Regions from separate parts of the Homo sapiens genome. Here region 1 is linked to region 2. Evidence: promoter capture Hi-C in human tissues and cell types (Jung and others, 2019). All regions are on one chromosome and are shown on one strand. Each heading gives the region's core, a stretch centred on a gene start or on the middle of the fragment in contact. The rest is flanking DNA. Distances are from core to core; before and after follow the strand shown. Region 1 holds the start of SPEG (striated muscle enriched protein kinase). Region 2 has its middle 43 kb from the start of LINC02832.

Region 1 (5,503 bases), core at 2,714-5,213, 250 kb after region 2:
GGTTCATTACCATGTTTTGATCTTTGGCCCTTCTGATTAACACCAGAATCTTCCAGACCCTAGCTATGAAGCTCCAACTAACACACCATGTGAGCATCATCAGCTCACCTCTTCTCTCGGCTGTGCCTTCTCCTGCTTCCCCTCTGCCCTTTAGTGCAGGTCTGCTCTTCAGCCACACACGCACACCCACAGCTTTGAGGGTAGCACTTGCTGTGGTCTCTGGATTTGCATGTGGCTCCTCAGCCTGTGCAAGTGGGAGCCTGATATTTTGAAAAAGAAGAATGCCTGCCTATCTTGGAGACTAGGCCAGAGATGGATTTGGAGATATTGACGGAGAAAGATGGTGACGATGACAAATCCTTGACAGTCTTCCCACACTTCTCTTTCTGTGGACAAGCAGTATGGACCCAGACTCAGATACCTGGCTTTCAGACCTGGCTCTGGCACCTCACTAGCCATGGGAACTTAGGTAAATTTCCTCTTTGAACCCCAGTTTTTCTATATGAATAATGGTCATAACAGTAACCTAGGGTTTGGAAGATTAAATAATTAAATGAGACAGGGTACTTACGCATGTTAAGGATTCTACAAGTATCCTGCATTTCTGCTATCTTCACCTCCTTTGTTTCCGATTCTTCCCTCATTTCTACATCCCCCAAATCTCAGCACCACCACCCCCAGTTTCCCATCCTCCAAATTTTCCAGGCTGTAGCCCACTTGCCTTCTCATGACCCCAACTTTCCAGAGCCATGCCCAAATCCTTCCATCCTTGAGCTAACATATCCGGCTTCAGGAGTGCCAGGAACCTAGCATCACTTTGTCTTATTGAGCCAGCAATCCCAGCCAGGAAAGCATGTCCTTCCGTCTGCAGCCAGGTCCTTGCTTGGCTTCCTCGAGTACCCTGAAGTCCTCCTGCTGTTGTTTCCAACCAAGAAAGTTTTCCATGAGTAAGTCTGAGCAATGCCGAGCTGCTTGCCCGGCTGCCCTGGAGCAGGAGCTATCACTGGGCAGGGGCTGGTGGGGGTGGGCAACAGAAGGGATAGGAAGCCAGATTCACCCAGTCAGTCCCCCAGCATCACCAAAGCAAAGCCCCTCCCTCCTCCAAAGCATGTGGGATAGGTGTAATAGTTACACACATGGTTCTTTGCAGTGGGACAGACTGAGGCCTCCACCTGTTCTGCCACCTTCTATCTACACAATCAGGACATGTTCTCAAAGGTTATTTGCTGCAGCCCAGTCCTCTTCCTATTCTCATATGAATGTCAAAGGGCCCCTGATCCAGCCCCACAACACCCAGGGCCCTTTTCTTACCCCAAGCCTCTCAAGCCTGCTGTTCCACCAGAGCAGCCCAGCCTGCACACTGTCAGCCTGGCCTCTGTCTAGGTACGCCCAGCCAGGCTCAGCGCTGCTGACCACACCACCAAGACTGCAGAGAGGCTGAGCAAACAGCCCTGCTGGGGGCTCTCACACCTCATCACCACTTACCACTTTGAGGGACCAAGGCAGGCCAGGAGACATCCATCTTGAGAAATGCCAGGCCTGGGCCAATCATGTGACAGCTACTTTCCCAGTACTCTCCCTCCCTCTCTCGCTCTTTCCTCTCTCTCCAGAACTTCTTGAGGAGTACAAGGCCCCCAGAACCAAAACCAGGAGGACTGGGTTCTTAGTTCTGGGATGGCCATAACTAGCTATGTCTCTAACTAGACTAGTACGTCTTAGGCAGAGCTCCCTGATCTTTGGCCCACAGTGTCCTTGCCTGTGAAAGGATGTGTTTGGAGCTGCAGTTCTCTGTGGTCCTTTCCAACCTTAACTTATATTATGACTGTTACTCTCCTTGTCAGCTCTTTCGTTCCCTTCCCTAATCTCTCCCCCAGTCATATTCTCATCAACTCATCTATCTTACCCTTTGATCTATGTTCTATTTTCAGCCCTCTTTGCCCCTGGGGGGACCAGAGCTGAGATCCCCAAGGAGTCCACACCTTCCCCAGCTCCGAAGTCTGCTAGAATGCACCCCATCCCCTGATCCCAGGCTCGGGAGGCCTGTACTTGTCCAGGTGCTAGGCCAACCAGGAGACGCCAGCCTTGGCCCTCTCTGGCCCAGGCCTGGCCACAGAGACTCCAGGAAGGTGGGCAGAGCAGGGCTGGGGGGAGGAGATGCCGATGGAGGGAGGCCAGCCCGGCTCCCTCTCCTGACTTGGCTGTGTCCTAGAGACTTCTTGCCCACCTGCTGCTGAGGGCTTTCCTCCCTGTGCCTCCTCCCCAGCCTCCAAGGATTTACCCCTACACAGCAGCACCCAGGGGAGTGACATGTCCCTCTTAGAAACGTCCAAGGGAGTGAACCCCCAGCTCCTTGCCATCTCTCCCAGCTGTAGCCTACTTCCTCAGAATTCTGTTTCTCAAGGCGCAGCCTGCCCAAGGCTCTGCCTTTGGCTAGAGAAGTACCACTTGGCTTACTCAAGGACTGAGGAAATCAAAAAGGAAGCCCCCAAATGGATCCAAGGCTAACGGCCCTGGCCTGGCCTCCATGGTAGCCCCAGCTGGACCATGAGCACTGGGCCCAGCCTCTTGCCCTCCCCTTCTGCCTCAGACCCTCAGCCTTTTCTTCACACTGCACCTGGAAATCTATGGGCGGGGGACAAGCACTGGTCCATAGCATCCCCCTTCCATGCTCTGGAAACATCCACTCTGGAAGCTCAGGTAGACATGGTCCAGGAGCTTCCCATTCCAGCTCCACGTGCCCATACCTCACCTGTTTGCACCACCACACAGAATCCAGGGCCCTCCACAGCACCCATGCAGGCACACACCTGCATGTGGATTCTCAAGCACTCACCTCCATTCATGCCCATGGGGCCCTGGCTCGGGCTCCACCTCCTCCTACCCTGGACCCTGTTCACACGTGGCCAACCATAGGCCTCTTCCACACCCCACCTAGAGCTGACCACATCAACCCTGCCACGGCAATGGCCTGCAGGGAGCTCTGAGCCATCCCTTCAACAGTGCAGCCTGGACCAGAGGAGCTGGCCCCCTCCTTCGGACATGGACTCCCCTGTTAAGGAGCTGATCGGAGTGTCAATCTCAAGTTTAAATCATGGAACTGAAGGACACCCTTTCCCCCAGGAGGCTTTTCTCCACAGGAGGAGAAGAACTTCCACCCCAGAATTCCCTGAGAGGTGGGAGTGGGTCTCAGGCTTGGCTTATCAACCGCTTGCTGCCCCTTGACCTCTGACCTTCCTGTGGGGAGCCTCTCTACCTTGACACCCCATTCCCTGCACTTGGCTCTTCGTCTCACTTCTGGGGCCGGGCAGCCGAGAAGCCAGGGCACCTGGGAAGAAGGCGGCGGAACCAGTATCCAGTACCTTACCCGCGTGGCCTGGGCAGCCCTTTTCTACCTCTGAGCACCCCGCCCCTGCCGGGCGCGGCCCCCACCTGCCCTTTACCTCCGACCTCCAGCACTGTGAGCACCGCCTCGCAGGAGGCCCGGCCCCGCTCGTTCTGGGCCATGCAGCTGTACACGCCGGCGTCCTGCGCCCCGCAGCGCCGCAGCCACAGGCAGCTGGGCTCGGGGGCCGGCGCGGGCAGGAGCTGCCCATCCCGGAACCAGCGGAGGCTGGGCTGGGGCGTCCCGCTCACCACCACCCGCAGCCGCACGTCGCTGCCCGCGCACACCGCCGCGTTCTTCAGGGGCCGCAGGAAGACTGGCGCCCCGGCCACGGCCACAGGAGCCCCGCCGCCGGCCCCCACCTTGGCCCTTTTCGGGGGCACTCCGGGGCTGGGGGGTGCCCTCGTGCCCGCATCCTCGCCTCGCGTGCCCCGGGCTTTCTGCATGGCCACTGAGAGCTGGGCTGGGGGGACGCCGGAACTGGGCGGCCACGGGGGCACCCGCGGGACGGTGCCCTAGGAGACAAGTCTGGGGGGCCGGCGGCCTGCCTTCCTGCTGCCCGCCCGCCTTCGGCCTGTGCTACCCAGAAGGTCACCGGGGCGGCCGGCGATTGCGCCTGGGGGCTATTTTTAGGCCCCCCGGCTCGGGTTGCGAGGGAGCCGTGGAGGGAGGGGGCAGCAGGGGAGGGACTTGACTCCACTTGGCTCCTTCTCTCCCTCCAGGAGCCCCCATCGCCGGCCCGGCTTAAGGGAGTCCCTCGGTATTTGTTCCAGGCTTTCCCCTCCGTAGTGTGCCTGGCCCCCACACGACCCACTGCAGGGAGTCAGGTTACCCCTGGGCTCAATCCCATTTCCCTTCCTCCCTCATCTCAGACCCCTCATCCCTGCCCGGCTTCGCTGGGAGGGGAAGAAGAGGAACGGTCCTGGTGAGATGCCTGAGAGGTGGATGGGGAGGCAGGCCCAAGTGGAGGTGAGCAGACAGCTCCGAAGAGGGACCATGGCCTCCCCCAGCGCCTCCATTACAGCTGGCGAACAGTAAGACCAGGAGCCTGGGAGTCAGGTGGATTGGGGCCTCCACTGCGCCCTGCCCTTACTTGCTGGGTGACACCAAACCTCTCTCAACCTCCAAGTCCTCATCTGTAAGAATGGGTGGTGGAATAGGGTTGCAATAGGCAGAAAAGAGTGGGCAGGACATTCCAGGCAGAGGGAACGGCATGAACAAAATGAGCCTGATGAAAACAAAGGCGTCCTGGGAATTAGAGAGGTTTGGAGGGATTGAAGCGTAGTGGGTGGGGTGAGTGGAAGAAGGGAGGTGGGGCCTGGAGAAGGCTTTGTTTGCTAAGGCTTTGGTTTCTCTACCCTGAAAGCAGGGGGCGCCACTACACAGCTTTAAGCGGCAGAAAAAACACGGTGGGAGCTGTGTCTTAGGAGGATCCTCTTGGCGGCCACAAAGTGGAGGATGGATAGAAATGACGGCCAGTTCAAGTAAAGGCCAGATTCCCAGCCTCCTTGCCCCACACTGGTTCAGCAGCTGAGCTGGGAGGAATCTGCACATTTAACAAATGACTCAACTGATTCTGATGTGCCTAAGTGTTGCACGTTGAGAAACATCAAGAGTCCAGATGAGACCTTTGTGATAGAACAGTTCTGTATCTTGGCTGGGCGCGGTGGCTAACACCTGTAATTCCAGCACTTTGGGAGGCCGAGGTGGGTGGATCACTTGAACTCAGGAATTCAACACCAGCCTGGCCAACATGGTGAAACCTGTCTCTACTAAAAATACAAAAAATTAGCCAGGTGTAGTGGCTCATGCCTGTAGTCCCAGCTACTCAGGAGGCTGAGGCAGGAGAATCGCTTGAACCTGGGAGGTGGAGGTTGCAGTGAGCCTAGATGGCACCACTGCACTGCAGCCTGGGCAACAGAGTGAGACTCTGTCTCAAAAAACAAAACAAAACAAAAACAGAACAGTTCTGTATCTTGACAGTGGTAATGGTGGTGGTTATGTGGATCTACACAAGTGATAAAGTTGCATAGAACTAAATGTGCATTTGCACTTGTACGCAACACTAACAGTACATGTAACACTGGTAAAACTTGCAGAAGGTAGGTGGATTATACCAAT
Region 2 (5,843 bases), core at 1,351-3,850:
TTTTCAGAAAGTTTTTTGGAAAAATAAAGACTAAGCTGTAAGGGAAATATTTTATTCCTATAAATATAGTACACAGGATTGTGACTCCATTAAAAAATAGTACGGTTTTGATACACAGTCTAGTATCCCTAAAAACAAGAATAAAATCACAGAGCTAAAAAGAAATATCTTGGTATTTAGGAATATGAGTTGCAGTGAAAAAATACTTAAATTCATAACATAGGGGAGTTACTCAAATTCCATATTCATCTGTGTGGTCTCTGGTTTTTGTTTTGTTTTTTGATAAGGGGATGAAAAGCGCTCACATTTGCAAAATGTATGTTGCCATCTTCTGCCACTAGGGGGTAGCATGCCCCATTATTTTACCTCTTTCTCAGCCTTCCAGCTGTGCCTGATACCAAAGCGTAAGACTGACAAGAAAACTTGTGTATATAATAAACGATTAGATATCGTACAATGCCATATATTTGATATATGTTATGTGTATAGTATTATGTAATACGTAATATATCTTATGTTGTAACATATACATTATTCATATATAAAGTATAAAATTTTATTTTGCATATATAATCCATCATTTGGGAAAAGCGGGGAATGTATCCTATATACCAGTAAACACAGCAAGCCTCACTAGTGCACAAAAAATCTAGTCGGAGTTCACCTGCTTCTATTAAAAGATTGAGGGCAGCTCTGCTTGATGTTAAAGGAGGGATTAGGGCTATTAGGATCTTCCCAGTGGAAAGCTCCAGAAAGTTTGGACCACCTAGAAGGCTGCGTGGTCACCGACCGGCTTGTGGAAGGAGAGGGAGGACGGGAGTCATGGGATGTACAGACTCAGTAGCCAAGGAATCTGAGAGATGCCCAATCTAACTCAGAAGCCAAGAGGCCGGAGCACCGCAAGGGCACAGGGAGCCCTGGAGCCTGAGGGAGAGTCCAGAGCTGCAGGCAAAGCCGTGTCAAGAGTCCAGGCTTAGAAACAGCCGCAAACCAACGCTCCAAATAGCTCAATGCGTCACATAGTCGGAATCTCAAAAATGTGACTTTAAGTTCATTTCCAAAATAAGACAAGGAGTGGCAGAAGGGAGATTCAAATTCCAACCTGTTCAGACATTCTAAAACATAAAACCCTGAATGTTTGGGGGCAATTAATCCAGAAAACATCTCAGTCAGCTTCTAACATCTGCCGCTGGAGCGAGGATGGAAAGCACTGGAAATGAAGGGCTTTCCTGGATCTGGGAATCTGGGTGCGCAGGCCAGTTCCCAACGCGCATGTGAACATCGCTTTTCTGCAGTCAGGACTAAAGCTGCCTTCCACATGGTCCACGTACATGAGGTCCGCACACATGAAATGTCTTTGTGCTGCTTCTCAGCATACATCATACTTTTCCCATGAATCATTTAAGACCAAAAAAAAAAAATACCTATGAGATAGGTATTAATATCATACCCACTGTACAGATTAAGAAACAGACACAGAGAGCTTAAGCAACTTGCCCAAGGTCACAACAGTGAGTGACGGTGCCGGGAGTTAACACAGAAAACTCTTTGTATTAGTCTGTTTTCATACTGCTATAAAGAACTTCCCGAGAATGAGTAATTTATAAAGGAAGGAGGTTTAATTGACTCACCGTGCAGCATGGCTGGGGAGGCCTCTGGAAATTTACAATCACGGCAGAAGGTGAGGGGGAAGCAAGGCACCTTCTTCACAAGGTGGGAGGAAGAAGGGCCGAATGAAGGGGGAAGAGCCCCTTATGAAACCATCAGATCTCGTGAGAACTCACTCCCTGTCACGAGAACAGCATGGGGGAAACCACTCCGTGGTTTAATTACCTCCACCTGGTCTCTCTCTTGACCTGTGAGGATGACGGGGTTTGCAATTCAAGATGAGATTTAGGTGGGGACACAAAGCCTAACCATATCACTCTTCTTGCTTCAGAATTGCCTGTTCTTTCTGCTACATTTGCTGCCTCCAAAAAAAGTATTTCTCTGAGCCAAGAAGTGTATAAAAAGGCAAGCTTCAATGAGCACAATAGATTTGTACACATCAGAGGCATTCGAACCAGAGTGACTCCATTTTGAACAGTGGCTGGGTGAAATGAGGCTGAGACCTGCTGGGCTGCATTCCCAAGAGGTTAGGTAATCTTAGTCACAGGATGAGATAGGAGGTTACGCCGGGCGCGGTGGCTCACACCTGTAACCCCAGCACTTTGGAAAGCCGAGGTGGGCGGATCACGAGGTCAGAAGATCGAGACCATCCTGGCTAACACGGTGAAACCTCGTCTCTACTAAAAGTACAAAAAATTAGCTGGGCATGGTGGCGGGCGCCTGTAGTCCCAGCTACTCGGGAGGCTGAGGCAAGAGAATGGCATGAACCCAGGAGGCGGAGCTTGCAGTGAGCCGAGATTGCGCCACTGCACTCCAGTAGTCTGGACAACAGTGCAAGACTCCGTCTCAAAAAAAAAAAAAAAAAAAGACAGGAGGTTGGCAGGACCATTATCACAAGATACAGGTCACAAAAACCCTACTGATAAAACAGGATGCAGTAAAGAAGCTGGACAAAACCTGCCAAAATCAAGATGGTGACAAAAGTGGCCTCTGGTCATCATCACTGCTCATTGTACACTACTTATACATAAGCATGCTAAAAGACACTCCCACCAGCACCATGACAGCTTATAAATGCCATGGCAAACTCTGGAAGTTACCCTATATGGTCTAAAAGGAAAGGAATCCTTAGTTCTAGGAAATCCTCCCACCCCCCGCCTTTCCCAGAAAACTCATGAATAATCCACCCCTTGTTTAGCATATGATCAAGAAGTAACCATAAAAATAGCCAGCCAGCAGCCCTCGGGTCTGCTTTGTCTATGGAGTAGCCATTCTTTTATTCTTTTACTTTCTTACAAACTTGCTTTCACTTTACTCTGTGGATTCGCCTGAAATTCTTTGTTGTGTGAGATCCAAGATCCTTCTCTTGGGGTCTGGATTGGGACCCCTTTCTGGTAACATATACATTAAAAAGAAAAAAACAAACAGGCAAACATAATAGAATTTTTCCAAAGGCTAATGGGTAGCCAGGGGTCATGAGAGAAAAAGAACAGGAATTAGGGAAGAAAGAAGGAAAGGATTCGAATCATAAGACAGGAAGATGGGCACTAACCTCATAAGTATATTTTCAAAGCAAGCATAAGAGGTGCCTGCTGGCCAGGCGCCGTGGCTCACGCCTGTAATCCCAGCACTTTGGGAGGCCAAGGCAGGCGGATCACGAGGTCAGGAGTTCGAGACCAGCCTGGCCAATATGGTGAAACCCTATCTCTACTAAAAATACAAAAATTAGCCGGGTGTGGTGGCGCTCGCCTATAGCCCCAGCTACTTGGGAGGCTGAGGCAGAAGAATTACTTGAACCCAGGAGGTGGAGGTTGCAGTGAGCCAGGACAACAGAGCGAGACTCCATCTCAAAAAAAAAAAAAAAAGTGCCTGCTGCATTTGGTGGCTTAAAGTTCTTAAAGTTCTGAGGGAGTCTTTGGCCAAAGAATGGAATCAGGAAAGGTGCCTTGGTATGTAAAATGAGCTGAATCAACAACAGTGGAAGGAATGCAGGAAAAAGGCGGATTTCTGCCCGGTCTAGTGGCAAAGGACAGCAGTGAAAGCAGGGGCACTCCAGGGACTGAACAGAAACAAAGACTCTAAGAGCAAGTTGAGTCTCTCCACAACTGCACAAAGCCACATTCTTTGCCTAATTACTTAAGCCAGAGTGTGTTCACCTGGAAATTTCCTGCTGGTCAGAGGAAGCAGTTTTGTTTCTGTTGTTGATGTCTTGGTTGAGGGAGGGGCTCCAGGTGATTGTAGCAGACAGACAGGGCAGGACAACAGGGAGCAGGGAATGTGGCATGCCGGATGCCACGATTCCACACACCACAAGTGGTTCCATTTCAGCCCAGAAATGATGAGACTAGCCTGGGATTTGCTACTTTTCCCATTCCTCCTGCTATGTTATTTGCTTTAATGAGAGAGACAAAGGGAGAGGAGAGATGGACAGAGAGAGAGAGAGAGAGAGAGAGAGAGAGAGAGAGAATGTGTCTCTAACAGTAAGAAAATAGCCATGTATCCATCCAACAGGAAGGCAGGTAAAGAAAGGGGGAAGGCCAGGCACGGTGGCTCACGCCTGTAATCCCAGCACTTTGGGAGGCCGAGGCAGGCAGTTAGCCTGAGGTCAGGAGTTTGAGACCAGTCTGGCCAACGTGGCAAAACCCTGTCTCTACTAAAAATACAAAAAAAAAAAAAAAAAAATTAGCTGTGCGTGGTGGCGTGCGCCTGTAATCCCAGCTACTCCGGAGGCTGAGGCAGGGGAATTGCTCGAACCAGGGAGGTGGAGGTTGCAGTGAGCCGAGATCACGCCACTGCATTCCAGCCTGGGCAACAGAGTGAGACTCCACCTCAAAAAAAAAAAAAAAAAAAGAAAGAAAGAAAAGAAAGAAAGAAAGGGGGAAAAGTGGTCACTGAGAAATTTCCAGCAAAGACTGGCCTCCTGGAAACCTTGGCATGTCCCTGGAGAGGCTGCTGACTGCACCGTGTGCCGAGTCCTGCCTTGGCTGATGCTCACCATCTCAGTCCAGAGGGGAGGCTGTTGCAGCGGATCAAGTGAGGCTGAGTCAAGCACTCGGGGCAGATTTAGTGCCTGCCGTAACCTCATCTAGTTATGTTGTAGGACTTTCTCCTTAGTTCAGCTAAAAACGGGGTCCTTGTCACATAGCCAGGAGAGATTAGGCTCACAGGCACTTTGAAGGGTGAGAAAAATTGAATTTATTGGGCAAAGAGGAAAAAAAGGAAATAGGAACTCCCAACAAAGTGAAAGTCCTACTAGCTGGCTTCCTGCCTCACAGATTGAATCCCCAGGGTACCAACCCAGAACAGGAGAGGCCAAGCTCCTCCCCACTGCAAATAGTGCGAGCTTCCGTGGCTCCACCCTCCTCCCAGTGCGTAGGTGGATCCGAGCCGCTCCGGCGAGCCCTGACTACCTGTCTGTCTCAGCTGCACCTAAATTACCTGCTTATAGAAGACTGTGGTTTAGTCTACCCAGGATGCTTTACCCACTGTCTTCTCCTGACCCTTTGGGGAACTCACCCTCACTCTTTGTGGCCCCTTGAGGCTATCAAACACTTGGTGACGTTTCAGGTGGAGACCCTGCCCACACTTGTGATTCAGAGGTCCCCAGATCTCTCTGTCTGTGGTGAATTGATCGGGAATCAGCCAACCCAGGCCAATGGTGATCTTGTCAAGGCCAGATACATGGATAAGAGGCGAAAGAGAAAGGAGAGCACAAGGGGCTGCCACCGCCACCACCAGCACAGTGTGCGGGAGCCCAGAGGAGACCTGGGCTGTCTCCCTGCCTCCTCTTTCCAGCAATCTGCTAAAACAGGGTGGATTACCAAGAAGTTCCAGGCATGCAGAGACATGCCTCACCTGAGGACATTAAAAAGGCATATTGGAAACTGGCCCTGAATTGGCACCCAGAAAAAAAAAATACCCTGAGAGGAAAGAAGCAGAGAGAAAATTCAAACAAGTGACTGAGCCATATGAGGTGCTACCAGATGCTTTTTTTAAAAAAAAAGACATCCACAGCAAAAAAAAAAAAGTGACAATTACAGCCAAGAAGTATTAAATGAGGGAGGTAGGAGATAGAAGTCATTTTGTCAGTCCGTGTGAGCTTGGCTTCACATTCCATAACCCAGGTGATGTCTTCAGGGAACTATTTGGTGGAAGGGACCCATTTTCATTCAACTCCTTTGAAGATTCATTTGAGGACTTTTTTGGGAATTGGAGGGGATCCCCGAGGAAGCAGA

Evidence for each region. The method cuts DNA at HindIII sites, captures the fragments that hold promoters and counts their contacts. A contact is called where the count stands out against the background at its distance.
Region 1: the fragment with the promoter of SPEG here is called in contact with a fragment that was not itself captured in region 2 in 2 of the 25 tissues and cell types used here (H1 embryonic stem cells and dorsolateral prefrontal cortex).

The regions. Positions count from the first base shown.
Region 1 is chr2:219,433,303-219,438,805 of GRCh38, reverse strand. It overlaps SPEG (striated muscle enriched protein kinase), which reads right to left and starts at 3,963. Exons shown (of 41, transcript NM_005876.5): 1 at 3,441-3,963. The coding sequence starts at 3,828. The HindIII fragment of the contact is 17,008 bases long and covers 1-5,503 here.
Region 2 is chr2:219,684,370-219,690,212 of GRCh38, reverse strand. It overlaps the pseudogene DNAJB6P3. Among named protein-coding and RNA genes, the nearest start is that of LINC02832, 43 kb to the left of the region's middle. RefSeq lists enhancers at 1,355-1,918, 1,039-2,238, 1,919-2,482, 5,232-5,526, 5,303-5,843 and 1 more. The HindIII fragment of the contact is 9,661 bases long and covers 1-5,843 here.